Linked DNA regions of Homo sapiens: regions 1 and 2 are each linked to region 3. The links are contacts of gene promoters, found by promoter capture Hi-C in blood cells and fetal thymus (Javierre and others, 2016). All regions are on one chromosome and are shown on one strand. Each heading gives the region's core, a stretch centred on a gene start or on the middle of the fragment in contact. The rest is flanking DNA. Distances are from core to core; before and after follow the strand shown. Region 1 overlaps PIP4P2 (phosphatidylinositol-4,5-bisphosphate 4-phosphatase 2). Region 2 overlaps PIP4P2 (phosphatidylinositol-4,5-bisphosphate 4-phosphatase 2). Region 3 holds the start of DECR1 (2,4-dienoyl-CoA reductase 1).

Region 1 (4,103 bases), core at 1,121-3,620, 1.0 Mb before region 3:
AACTTGACTGGATTAAGGAATGTCTAAAGAAATGGTAAAGCATTACTTCTGGATATGTGTGAGAGGGTGTTTCTAGAGGAGACAGTGGACTGAATGGAGAAGATCTGCCCTCAATGTGAGTGGACACCATCCAATTCGCTGGGGGCCCAATAGAAAAAAAAAAAGCAGTGGAAAGGCAATTTTCACTCTTCTGGAACTTGGACACTCTTTTCCTGCCCTTGAACATCAGAACTCCAGGCCCTCTGACCTTTGGACTCTGGGACGTACACCAGTGGTCCCTCAGCTCCGCAGACCTTCCTCCTCAGACTGAGAATTACGCCATTGGCTTCCCTGATTCTGAGGCTTTTGGACTTAGACTGAGCCACACTGCCAACAGTCCAGGGACTCTTACAGATCCCCTGTTGCAAGACTTCTCAGCCTCTATAATCACAGTAGCCAATTTCCTTGATAAATTGCCTCTTATCTATTTCATCTATCTATCTATCTATCTATCTATCTATCTATCTATCTATCTATCTATCTATCTATCTATCTCCTGTTGGTTCTGGCTTTCTGGAGAACCCTGACTAATACAATGGTTTCTTTTCCTTAAAGTTTGTTTTCTTGGTTTCCAGATACTGCTTTCTCCTGGGTTTCTCCTACTTCTCACAACTCTTCTTTGTTGGCTTTACTTTCTCTTCCAAGTTGTTAAATTTTGCTATTTTCCAAAGTTGGAACTTGACCGCACTTTATCCGGGTTTTCTCTTATGTTCCTATGTCATTTAGATGCCATTAAATGACCCCAGATATTTCTTTGGAGCTTCAGATTTAAATATACTATCTCTATTCACTATCTAGCCTAGAATTATTTCAACTTGATATCTCATGGTCATTTCAAGCACAACCTGACCCAGCATTCCCACCTTACTCTGCAAACCAATCTCCCATGTGTATTGATAAATATATTATGTTTTTCTTTTTCACCCCCTACATTATTTCTAGAAAAAGAATATATTATTTTAATGAATGTTATCCTGTCTGTCCAACTGACCAACCAAGAAATATTAGTGTATTTTTTATCATTCTCCATATTTAAATGGTAATATCCTATCAATTATGTCCCTTGACATTTTAATTCTGTCCTCTTATTCTCATGATTTCTACTTCAGTTCATGTATTCAGCATCTCTCACCAGGACTATTGCATTGGTTTTCTAATTTATCTCTTGACCTCCAATACTGCAATTATCTATTCATTTACTAGAGTGGTAGTTCCTAAATGCATACGTCATTTTAGATTCTCTGGCATCAAATCTTTTAGTGGCTCCCAATTTCTTAGCCATGGCATACAGTTGTGCAAGTTGTATGCTGCACAACCCGAAGAGGTACAATTTCCATTGTTATTTTAGGTTTGTATATTTAGTTTCATATAAATTATTCTGAGGACTTCTTTTACTTATTGGCATAAATGTACCATATGGTTTACTATCAGCCCATTGCCTAAAATCCAAAATCAAACTCCAAACTTCTTTTAGTCTTTGCCTAACTTTTCTAGGGATATCTTTGTTTTCTTCTGTCTCTACACACACAACCTAGTTATTTCCTAGCCCCAACAAATTGCACTTCTACTTCCACAAACATATTATGCAGTTTCTTTCTTCTGTTCCTGAGTCTTATCCTGCTAGACCTAGAATGGCCTGGCTACTCCTTTCCTTGCCCTTGTCTACCTAGAAAACACCTATTTAACCTAAAAAATTAGCTGAAACATCCCTTGCTTCTACTCTTCATCTGTAGAAACATTCTGTGGCACAAAGGTTATTCTGCTGCTTATTCCTTGAACAAATTTTCTTTTCACACCTGAACAATTCTAATGTAATCAGCTGAAATGACTTACTCCCCCATCTATTCACATTTTAAGCTATCCTTAAGTCTTGTGTAATAAAGCCATCCCTGGCTGCCTTGTCTGAAAATTGTAATGTAAAGAACATTGTTTGCCGCCTTTTCCCCTTATAAATTCCTGTAGCACTAGCTACACTACCATTTTCCAGGTGTTCTTCATAATCCTAGTGTTTCATAAGGTGTTTTTGTGAAGCGAAAGATTAATAATTTGAAGAGTGAATAGTTAGATGTTTGAGAGCATTGAATGGTCTTTTCAGCTTGGAGATTCACTGTCCACATTTTTGTATATGCCCTTGACTTTCACATGCAGTAATATAAAAAACCAATTAGCTGTAAAAATCATCCTTTTAAATGCATAGCTCAGCTCATATGACAGTTGGGGACCAAAAATGAAGATTAAGTGACAACCAGGACTATCCTGAAGGTATATGCCAACACTAGGGATCTACAGCCTTGGAAGAATGAGAGAGAAGGCATTGGCCTCACACAAGGTAGCGGGGTTAGAATACTGCCTCCTCCCAATAAAGTACTTAAAGTACTCTTCCCCTGGAAAAGAGTGAGTTAGGAAAAAGAAATCAACCAGAAAAGGAAGATTGCAGAGGAAAAAATTTATAAGAACAGTGAATTTAGGTTTATATTTTTATATCACTTATGCGATCTAGGAAAACCTAGTTCCAGAAACTGACTTAAAGTTTAGGGTTAGTATCAGTCTAGGGAGCCTGCGAAAAGCAAATGAAAGTTCTGTATGTAGGAAAGCACCCCCAAACTATGCATGCCAAAATTTTTTTATATTGAGATCTGCCAAAATAAGTTTTCAACAAAAGTTACTAGTCATAGGAGAAAACAAGATTCCAGAAGCATAATCAACATTGACAACAAACAGCATAATTAGACCTCTAAAAACTTCAGATTTATAATTATTAAATATGGAGTATGTTAAAACTATGCCTAAGATGTTTTAAAATAAAAATAAGAGAAAACATGTAAGACTATTTAAAAATTACCAGGTACTCACAGAAATGTATATGTGAGTGTTTGTAGCAAATTTGACACATGCAACAGCTTGGATGAATTGAATTTATGCTGAGTAAAAAAAAAAACTTAGCCATACAAGGTTACCTGCAGTAAGATTTCATTTATGTAACATTTTTCAAATGACAAAATTGTAGAAATAGGGAACAGATTAATGATGGTGTGGCAGGCACAGGGTGCGGGATGGGCAGAAAGGAGGGTGTGGTTATAAAAGGATCCTTACAGTGATAGACTGTTCTCTATTTTAGCTGTGGCAATAGATACATGAACCTAAACGTGATAAAATTGCATAAAATTAAAGAAAAATCCATACTCATATACCTGAGAAATCTGAATATTGGTGGATTATATGAATGTTAATATCCTGTTTATAATATTGTATTATAATTTGCAAGATTTACTATGGGGGAAATAGGGCAAAACGTACATGGTATTTTTATGTGTTATTTATTACAACTGCTTGTGAATCTATAATTGTCTCAAATAGAAATTTGCAAAAAATAACCAGATAGATATAGAAAGAAACAATAGAACTTCTAGAAATTATTACAGAAATTAAAATGCACGTACGGTTTAAAGAACAGATCAGCTAAAGGTGAAGACTAAAGTTGTGAATTGGAAGATAGAGGTAAGTGAATTACCCAGAATCTAGCATAGAGAGACAAAGATGAATGTAAGATTAAGAGAAAATATATTATTAAGATGCCAATTATATATCTGATCTGGAAGGAACAAATAAAGAATGGGATATGGCATTTTAGGAGATAATCTCAAATAATTTTCAGATCTATGAAAGATATGAATTTTTATATTCAAAAAGAACAATGAAATCCAAGCAGGATAAGTAAATGTGTTACAGTGAAATTGTAGAAAACCTAAGAGAAATAGAAGGTAATTAAAAGCAGAGAGACAAAAGGCATATTTTCAATAAGAAAAAGATAACAGTTCTGTCAGCAAATGTCTCAACAGCAAAAATAGAAGCCAGAAAACAAGTTTTAAAATACATCAAAAATACTAAGAGAAATTAACTGTCAAACTGGTATTATACACCTATCTAAACCATCAAAGAATAATGAAGGTAAAATAAGTATATTTTCAAAAGCAAAACCAACAAACTTACAAACAAAACCCAGGGTATCTACCATCCTGGTACCCTTACTAAAAAAAAAAAAAACTGCTAAATGATGAACTAGG
Region 2 (3,991 bases), core at 1,307-3,806, 1.0 Mb before region 3:
TAGTAAGTGAATTAAACTGCCAAATATTGTCATTGAGGAGACGTATAAAGGAATAATTGAGATAATAAAGGTCAGAGCAATCCAACAAAACAATTTAAATCTTTAAAATACTGGAGGATATATCTGAGAAAAGATGAAATATGGATTAATACACCAGGATGAATTAGCAAGACAGAGGGGCTGTTTGGCATAAAATAGATAAATTAGGTAAATGTGATGAGAAATGTAATCTGATCACTTGTGGGTTTACAGGATATAATGCTTCCTTTTGAGTGTTTTAGAAAGATCATTATGTATGCCTTGTGATCCATAAACTATCATTCTCTCCCTTTTATGAGTCCGTTTTTCTCTGAAGTTTTTACTGTGAAATGATTCTTCTTTTTAAAATATATTCTAATTCCCCCCCACCCCGATTCTTCCTTCTCCTCTTCCTCTTAATTCTCTTTAACCAAGATTTCATTCTCCAGAAATCTACATTATCAGATGTTTGCTTGTTCCTAGAAAAATCCCCCCATTGGTCCTTAAATATTTTCCCTGTATTAAGTCATTATTTATTAAAGGAGACAGCTGTTATTGTGGAGCGATCTCCAGAACAGGAGTCAGCTCTTGGCTTTGCTGAAGTTGTGTATAACCCTTAAAAAGTCAGAATTTCTGGGTTTGTTTTCTCCTTTGTAAAATAAAGAAATTAGACTTCATAATTCCAAAGATTGTTTGAATTTCTAACATTGTTCTATTCTGGAGCTTTGAGGGAGTTTTTTTTTAGGATTAAGGACTACTGGCCTAACAAATACTGCTCACATGGAGGAAAAAAGCTTTTTAATTTAGAAAAACCCCATGGAGAAAAATGACCATTGTTTAGATAACAAGTAAGACTTTTCCAAAATGAGGAATTTTTGTGACTTTCAACATCTAATGATCCTAAGTTCTGAGATTACAGTGGACTTTTTAAATGTAGTGCAGAAATTTAAAATAGGTAGGATACTGGTGATCGGTTGTTTTAAAGTGAAAATATAGGCATGGTGGTGCATGCCTGTATTCCCAGCTACCGAGGAAGCTGAGGTGAGAAGATCACTTAAGCCCAGGAGTTCAAGACTGTATTGAGCTATGATTATGCCAAAGTGAAAAGAGACAAAATGAATAAATCTAAGTTAATTTAATTATTATAGGTTTAATCTATAATAATCCAATTATTAATCATTTAAATTAATAATCTTATTCTAATTATTGTAGGTTTACTAACTGTGGAATCTCCAGAATTACAAGTCCCATATAAGAGGAGATGGAGCTACAAGTAAATGTTTCCTTGAGGTAAAATCTGAGAGAAAGGGAAAGGCCAAAAGTACAAGAAATAATCTGTCTAAATCAGTTTAAGGCTGAAGTAATGGATAGAACATTGAAATGAAAGGCCAGGAAGCACTGTTTATTGTGGCAATTAGGCTGCAGCATCTGTCATTCTATTGATCTCTTGGATTGATTCCATTTATCTGGTGGGCCAGGCCAGTGTCCCCTGACTACTTCACCTCTCTCAGTGCATTATTTGGAGAGAGTTGTCTTCTATATAAAAGAAGCCCTTGTTTTCCATCAAGCTGCACTCCCCTGCTAGAACCTTAGCTCCTCTGCAAGGAGAGTAGGGTTAATGTATTAGGTTGGTGCAAAAGTAATTGCGGTTTTTGCTATTTGAAAGTCGTAGCAAAAACCGCAGTTACTTTTGCAGCAACCTAATACTTGGTGTTATTTTTCCAAGACAAATAGATATGTCTAATAAATTTTAGTGACTCGCTGATTTATTAATTAATTCAACCATTGAATAAACATTTAGTAAGCATCATCATAGACCAGGCATTATGACAAGCGCTGGTGAAGTAGCTGTGGACAAACCAGATGTGCCCCTGGCCTCGTGGAGCTTATGGTCTCTCTTATATTAGATTTATAATCTTCACTGCTTGTTCTGTCCATGTCCCTCCACTTCCCAAGCCTCCAAAAGAGTAGATTTGAGCATATTTCTGTCATTGAAGGCGTTTTTTTTTTGGCAGATTAAAAATTATATAGTACAAATCTTAGAAGAAAAATTCACAGGGTTTTACTGGCTCTAATGCCCTTTTAATGATTGTTAAGATCACCCTCTGAAATTTTCTTAGGAGATTTCTTTGAGCAAAGCTGAGGAGTGTATGGGTTGGTGTCCTTTTATGTAGTGTAGCAATATGTCACTTCCTCCTCTCCCCCTAATGCCCTTGTTTTCTTTATAAAACTGTCTTGCATTTAAGTTTCCTTTCTATCATACTGTGTAAGATAGAGACCTGGGATTACGAGAGAACTATGTAATGTTACTGTACAACTCAAGGAAAAGGCCAGAGAGGAAGCAACTTTTGTTAATAATGCTACTGCAAATAATTATTAAAATAATATTCATTATCATATACCAGGCAGTGTGTCTTGAATTTCTAGTGAGGTACATATTCTTTCCCCAAGAATAATGTCTTTATTGAGATCTGACAAAGTAATCTGCAAATTGCAAGACCTTAAGTATATTGTTGACTCATTGTTTCTTTAACATGTTTTTTTCTTCTTGATTAATACATTACAGGTCACTCTGGATCACGCTCAAATTCTTTTCATGGATTTAAAATTATTTTTATAATTTAAGACATGTACAGCTTCTTTTGAATTTCAGTGTTTGGCAGTGTTCTGTTATAAGCCTCCCAGAAACATAAGCATATCGTCATTTCAAAGTGGCCTCTTTCAGAGCCTTGGCTGCTGCAGAAATTTGTCTTATGAATCATTTGAACGAATACCACTTGTTGCTAATCCTTAGCAGTCTGAAAAAAATCCTATATTATAACCCAAGGATCAGGTAGAAATATGTGTATTTTAAACATACCAAAATGTTTTATGCTCTAATTCTTTTTAAAATATCACAAAGTTTAGGACCTAATACAGTGGATAGAAAACCTTTATTTCAAAAATAGCTCTTATTATGCTTAGCTATTGTGATTATATTTTATAGTGTTACAGAAGCCTCTTGAGATACCAGTTCTCTTTCGTGCTTCAATCATATGTTAGAGTGTGGCCCTTTCTAAATGTCCCAAGACAAAACTTTACCTTGGAAAAGTCTTCTATTCCTGTAGTTGAGATAGTTACAGAAAGGGGTTAGGCAGTCTCCTTTAGAAATCCCATTCCAGAGTAGTATATCAGGATTCCTTTTCTCAGACTTTTGTAACAAATATACACTTCTGGTAGATACTTGATTTTGAAAGTGGGCCTCCACCCTTCACTCACTCACTGAGTCAACCTTAGGACTCTCAAAAAAAACACTGTGTGTGTGTCTTTGTATTATGGGAATTTTCAAACATACACAAAAGTAGTGTGAAACTATGACCTTCCATGTCATTATATTCATCAGTTATCAACATTTTGCTACTTGTTTCATCTGGTTCCCCATTCTTTTTGTGGTGGTTGTTGTTATGGTTTTTGAAGTTTTTAATCCCACATACTACATTTTTTTACTCATAAACACTTTGGTGCATTTCTTACATTTTTAATGGTAGGTAAATTTTGAGACTAAAAATTGTTATATTTACTTTATTTTTGTTTTGTGTCTGAAATTAGCATGGTTCCCATTTTTGTTCCATGCTGAGAAGTTTAGTTTTCTTAGGTTCATTTTTGTTTCTTCTTGACTTCCTCCAACACCTTGTTTTATTCTTGTCATAGCCAGCAGTCATTATACTGGTTCCAATATAAAGACAGAGCATGACAGCTACATAATTTATATGTATGGATAAGCAATTTTAAAACTTTGCTTTCATCGACCATTTTTATTTCCTGGGAATCAGATCACTTGTGTAAAATTTTTATTGTAGGCATAAATTACCACTCTCCTGTTAGAGACTGTATGAATTTACTAATAGGAATGGAGTGACATTTTGAGTATAGATTAGTAAAAGGAAACTGGGTTATTGGGATAGACCTAGGCAAACATGATTTAGATTTTATC
Region 3 (3,919 bases), core at 1,365-3,864:
GAAACATGGCAGTGTGCATGATAGTAATCAAAGAATGAATCAAAAAAGGAAGAATGGTAAATTTTTTTTTTAAAGTTTCACAAAATGAACAACCTTACTACATGAGATGAATTTAGATATATCCTATTCTATTCCATTTTTTTGTTTTTGAGATGGAGTCTCACTCACTCTATCGCCAGGTTGGACTACAGTGGCGCGACCTCAGCTCACTGCAACCTCTGCCTCCCAGGTTAAAGCGATTCTCCTGCCTCAGCCTCCCAAGTAGCTGGGACTACAGGCGTGTGAAACCACACCCAGTAATTTTTGTATTTTTACTAGAGACAGGGTTTCACCATGTTGGCCAGGATAGTCTTGATCTCTTGATCTAATGATCCACCCGCCTCAGCCTCCCAAAGTGCTGTTTTGCTCCACTAAATTGATTTCAAGGCCTACTCATTGGTTATTATTTGTGGCTTAAAATACATATATGAGACTATAGTACATTGAAGGCAGGAATGTCTTTCAACCACAAATTGCCAAAGAATGCCCAATACTTAATAGGTACTTAATTAATTAGTGTTTCCTCATAAACAACTGAATGACTGAATGTTTTCCTCAATAGAACTGAGAGCAACTTGAGAACAGTTGAGAGCAGGGCTCGTATTTTTTAAATTTTGAGTCCCAGGGCATAGCACAGGGCCAGACATAAAGCCAGTCCTCAATAAATATTTATTAAATTGAAATGAGGCCTATTAGCCAGCAGCACAATTTAACACAGCACTTCACAAACAGGTTTTATAACAAATTAAACATTTGCCTTGGTTCTTGGTAACAAAAATATTCAAATTAGGGGTTTTAATTATAACAACTTGTATTTGCCCACAAAAACATGATGTTCCCTGGAACAACCTCCCACATCACAGATGTAAAGACTTTTCTTCTCCCAGGAATTCAAACTTGAGGCTACATGTGCTAGGAAGGGGACAAACCACACTAACAGGTACCTCTCTTGCCTCCCAACCCTGAACCTCAAAACTTCCATATTTTTCTTCAGCAAAGGAATTTCAAAATTGTCAGATTACAATTAATTTTTAAATGAGTTCATTTTCTCCTTCTCAAACTGTATTGTCTAATGGTGTCAGAAGAGCTTGGATAAGGTCTGTATGACCTTATTGCTACAATCCTAATGATGTGTGTTAAAAAATGAAATCTCTGAAGACATCACAGAGCTGTTGTAGATTTCAAATGAGAAATGTCTCTGAAAAGTATCAGAAAATATGGGCTTCCTTTATAATGATCTATAACCCAGTTTTCACAGGGAGAGAAAAAAAATCAGCAAAACCCTAACCCTGAACAAATCTCACTTTTTAAAAGAAAGATACCTTACTTGAGGGAACCACCATACTAATTCTTTGTATTCCTATTTGGAACTACTGCTGCCCATATTTTTTGAAAAACAACACCATGGCTGTCTATTCTATCAAATCAAAAGAAGTTTTTTCACAGTTGACATATTAATTTTTCTACCTGGCTAAAGAAAATGTGCTTTTTAGTTTACTTATAACAATTTTGTAATTTAGATGTGGGGAGGGCTTGTCTTGGATATTATTGCTTCTTTTTGTTTTTGTTTCTCTTTCTTCTTCCTAGCTGTTTTCACTTCCTAGCTATTTCCACTATGGGTGCAATGGAGATGGTGACAGGAGTGTGGGCCAGAGAGAGGGGGAAGCCAGTGTGAGACGGACCTCTCCCAGCTATACATCTGGGAAGGGGAGTCTATAAACAGCTGGGGTTTTGTTTTTGTTTCATTTTTATGATAATTTGTTTGTATTAGTGTTTAATTCCATAACTAACACATAGATGGACTTTCCTCACAACAAAGGACGTCAAAGGTCAGTGCTCGCTCGGCCTGATCCCCTCTCACTCCTTAAGGGGTGGACGGGCGCCGTATCCTTCCCTACCTCTTTCTACCTATTTACACACAAGTTGGAAACTTGCAGAACTGTGAAAACTTCGAAAATCACGTCTCTTCCCTATTCCCCTACACACATCAGGGCTTCATCTGACAGTGGAATACGACCCGGGCCCCGGTGCTCACTCCCGGCGTTGCCCTTCGCTCCGGGACCTGGTGGTCCTCTCTCTCTGCGCCCCAAAACGCCCTGTCCTAGCTCCCTGAGCCCCAGGGACGCCGGGTCCTCTCTTTGTGCCCCAAGACTTCCTGCCCTTTCTCTTGCGCCCCGAGACGTCCTGTCCTCTCTCTCGCTCCCCGGGTTGCTCTGTGCTCTCTTAGCGCTCCAGAACGCCCTGTCCTCTCTCTTTGAGCCCCGGGACACCCTGTCCTCGCTCCCCGAGGCCCCGGGACGCCCTGTCCTCTCTCTCTCTGCGCCTCGGGATGCCCTGTCCTCGCTCCCCGAACCCCCGGGACGCCCTGTCCTCTCTCTTTGCGCCCCAGGATGCCTTGTCCTCGCTCCCCGAGCCCCCGTGACGCCCTGTCCTCTCTCTTTGCGCGTCGAGACGCCCTGTCCTCGCTCCCCGCGCCCCCGGCCGCCTTACCCTCCGAGGAGCGAGGCCACAGGGCAGCCGGGACCCCAGAGTAAAGAAAACCCTGGCCGGTAGCTTCATGTTGAGTCTCCAGAACTCGGGCCGGAAGGCGGCGCAGGCGGTTGGGCGCAGGGGGCGGGACAAAAAGAACAAAGTTCTCGGGGCTGGAAACGCTGCCTAGGCCGCCGGGGGATGGGACGGGGACTGGGACCCAGGCGGCGTGGACGCCCAGCGGCCCTGACCTTCAGAGTCCGGCCGAGGGCGCCGCCTAGCTGGGCCTAGCTGATGCTCTTTCCTGCTCTCTGGGCCAGGAGTGCTTTGTATGGCAGAGAATGGAGGTTCTTTGCGTCCTTGAGCGGGTGTACGAAACCCCGCGCCCTGCAAGGGTTTGCAGATTGCAGCTGCGCACCCCATACACTGCCTATCAAGGGCGAAACTCTTTTTCAGTCGTATGTGTTTATCCCTTAAGTGCGTGTTTAAGTGCAGAGTGCGCGTGGCGCCAAGTCACATATTATCAGAATAATAATATGTTGGATGTAAAACACGGCCTCACTTTCCCTAAGACCAAGAGGCTGAAAAACACTAAGGGCAGCTTCCGGCGTTTTGACTTTTCGCAGGACACACCGCCCCCTGTCGCCGGATGCAGCGTGACTGCGACCGCCCAGCCTTGGCTTTTTTCTCGAAGTTAAACACACGTTAAAGGCAAACACAGATTCAGTATATCATTCTCCATCTTAGTGTAATATACCTGTTGACACAAGGCATTAGCTCAGATCACATTTCTTTCCTCATTCGTAAAATGAGAATATTCATAGCTAATTCAGAATTTTAGATAAAAGAAGATGGGTGTGAGGCCCCAGGCTGAGGCTGATGGTAGATGATATTGAGTGTTTACTATTTGCCTGGCATGTTCCAAATGCTGATAAAGAAACATTTATATCTTCAGAGGAATGTACACTTACATGTAGACATATAGCTTATAAGGTATATAAACTCTGAAAAACTTTGTAATTTTGAGTTGGTCTGGTGATAATTTCCAGGCCTTCTGCCTGTAACTGGTTACAGAAATAAAAACTTTCTTCATCCCCAGTTCATCGACATCTCATTATTGGCAGCAAGAAATAGCAGCCTGACCCTCAGTTTGGTCCAGGAACAAAACTACCACAGATTGGGTGGCTTAAATGGAAATTTGTTTTCTCACAATTCTGGAGGCCACAAGTCAGCAGAGTTGGTTTCTTGTGGAGCCACTGTGGGACCATCTTCTCCCTGTGTCTTTACATGATCCTCCTGTGTACCTTTCCATATCTAAATTGCCTCTTCTTATGAGGACACCAGTCGTGTTGGATTAAGGCCCACCCTCAATGACCTAATTTAACTGGAATTACCTCCCTAAAGACTCTAT

The links. Contacts are between HindIII fragments. The CHiCAGO score rates a contact against its expected background, and 5 or more counts as called.
Region 1: a fragment that was not itself captured here is called in contact with the fragment with the promoter of DECR1 in region 3 in 2 of 17 cell types (neutrophils and total CD4 T cells); the score reaches 7.6 in neutrophils.
Region 2: a contact is called between a fragment that was not itself captured here and the fragment with the promoter of DECR1 in region 3, in 3 of 17 cell types (neutrophils, M2 macrophages and monocytes). The highest score is 9.9, in neutrophils.

The regions. Positions count from the first base shown.
Region 1 is chr8:91,000,380-91,004,482 of GRCh38, reverse strand. All of the region lies in intron 5 of PIP4P2 (phosphatidylinositol-4,5-bisphosphate 4-phosphatase 2), which reads left to right. Among named protein-coding and RNA genes, the nearest start is that of C8orf88, 17 kb to the right of the region's middle. The HindIII fragment of the contact is 7,791 bases long and covers 1-4,103 here.
Region 2 is chr8:91,021,606-91,025,596 of GRCh38, reverse strand. The region is part of intron 1 of PIP4P2 (phosphatidylinositol-4,5-bisphosphate 4-phosphatase 2); the gene reads left to right. Among named protein-coding and RNA genes, the nearest start is that of PIP4P2, 17 kb to the left of the region's middle. The HindIII fragment of the contact is 3,484 bases long and covers 815-3,991 here.
Region 3 is chr8:90,000,172-90,004,090 of GRCh38, reverse strand. DECR1 (2,4-dienoyl-CoA reductase 1) reads right to left here and starts at 2,614. Exons shown (of 10, transcript NM_001359.2): 1 at 2,530-2,614. The coding sequence starts at 2,598. RefSeq lists enhancers at 1,988-2,127, 2,976-3,270 and a silencer at 2,598-2,697. The HindIII fragment of the contact is 6,361 bases long and covers 1-3,919 here.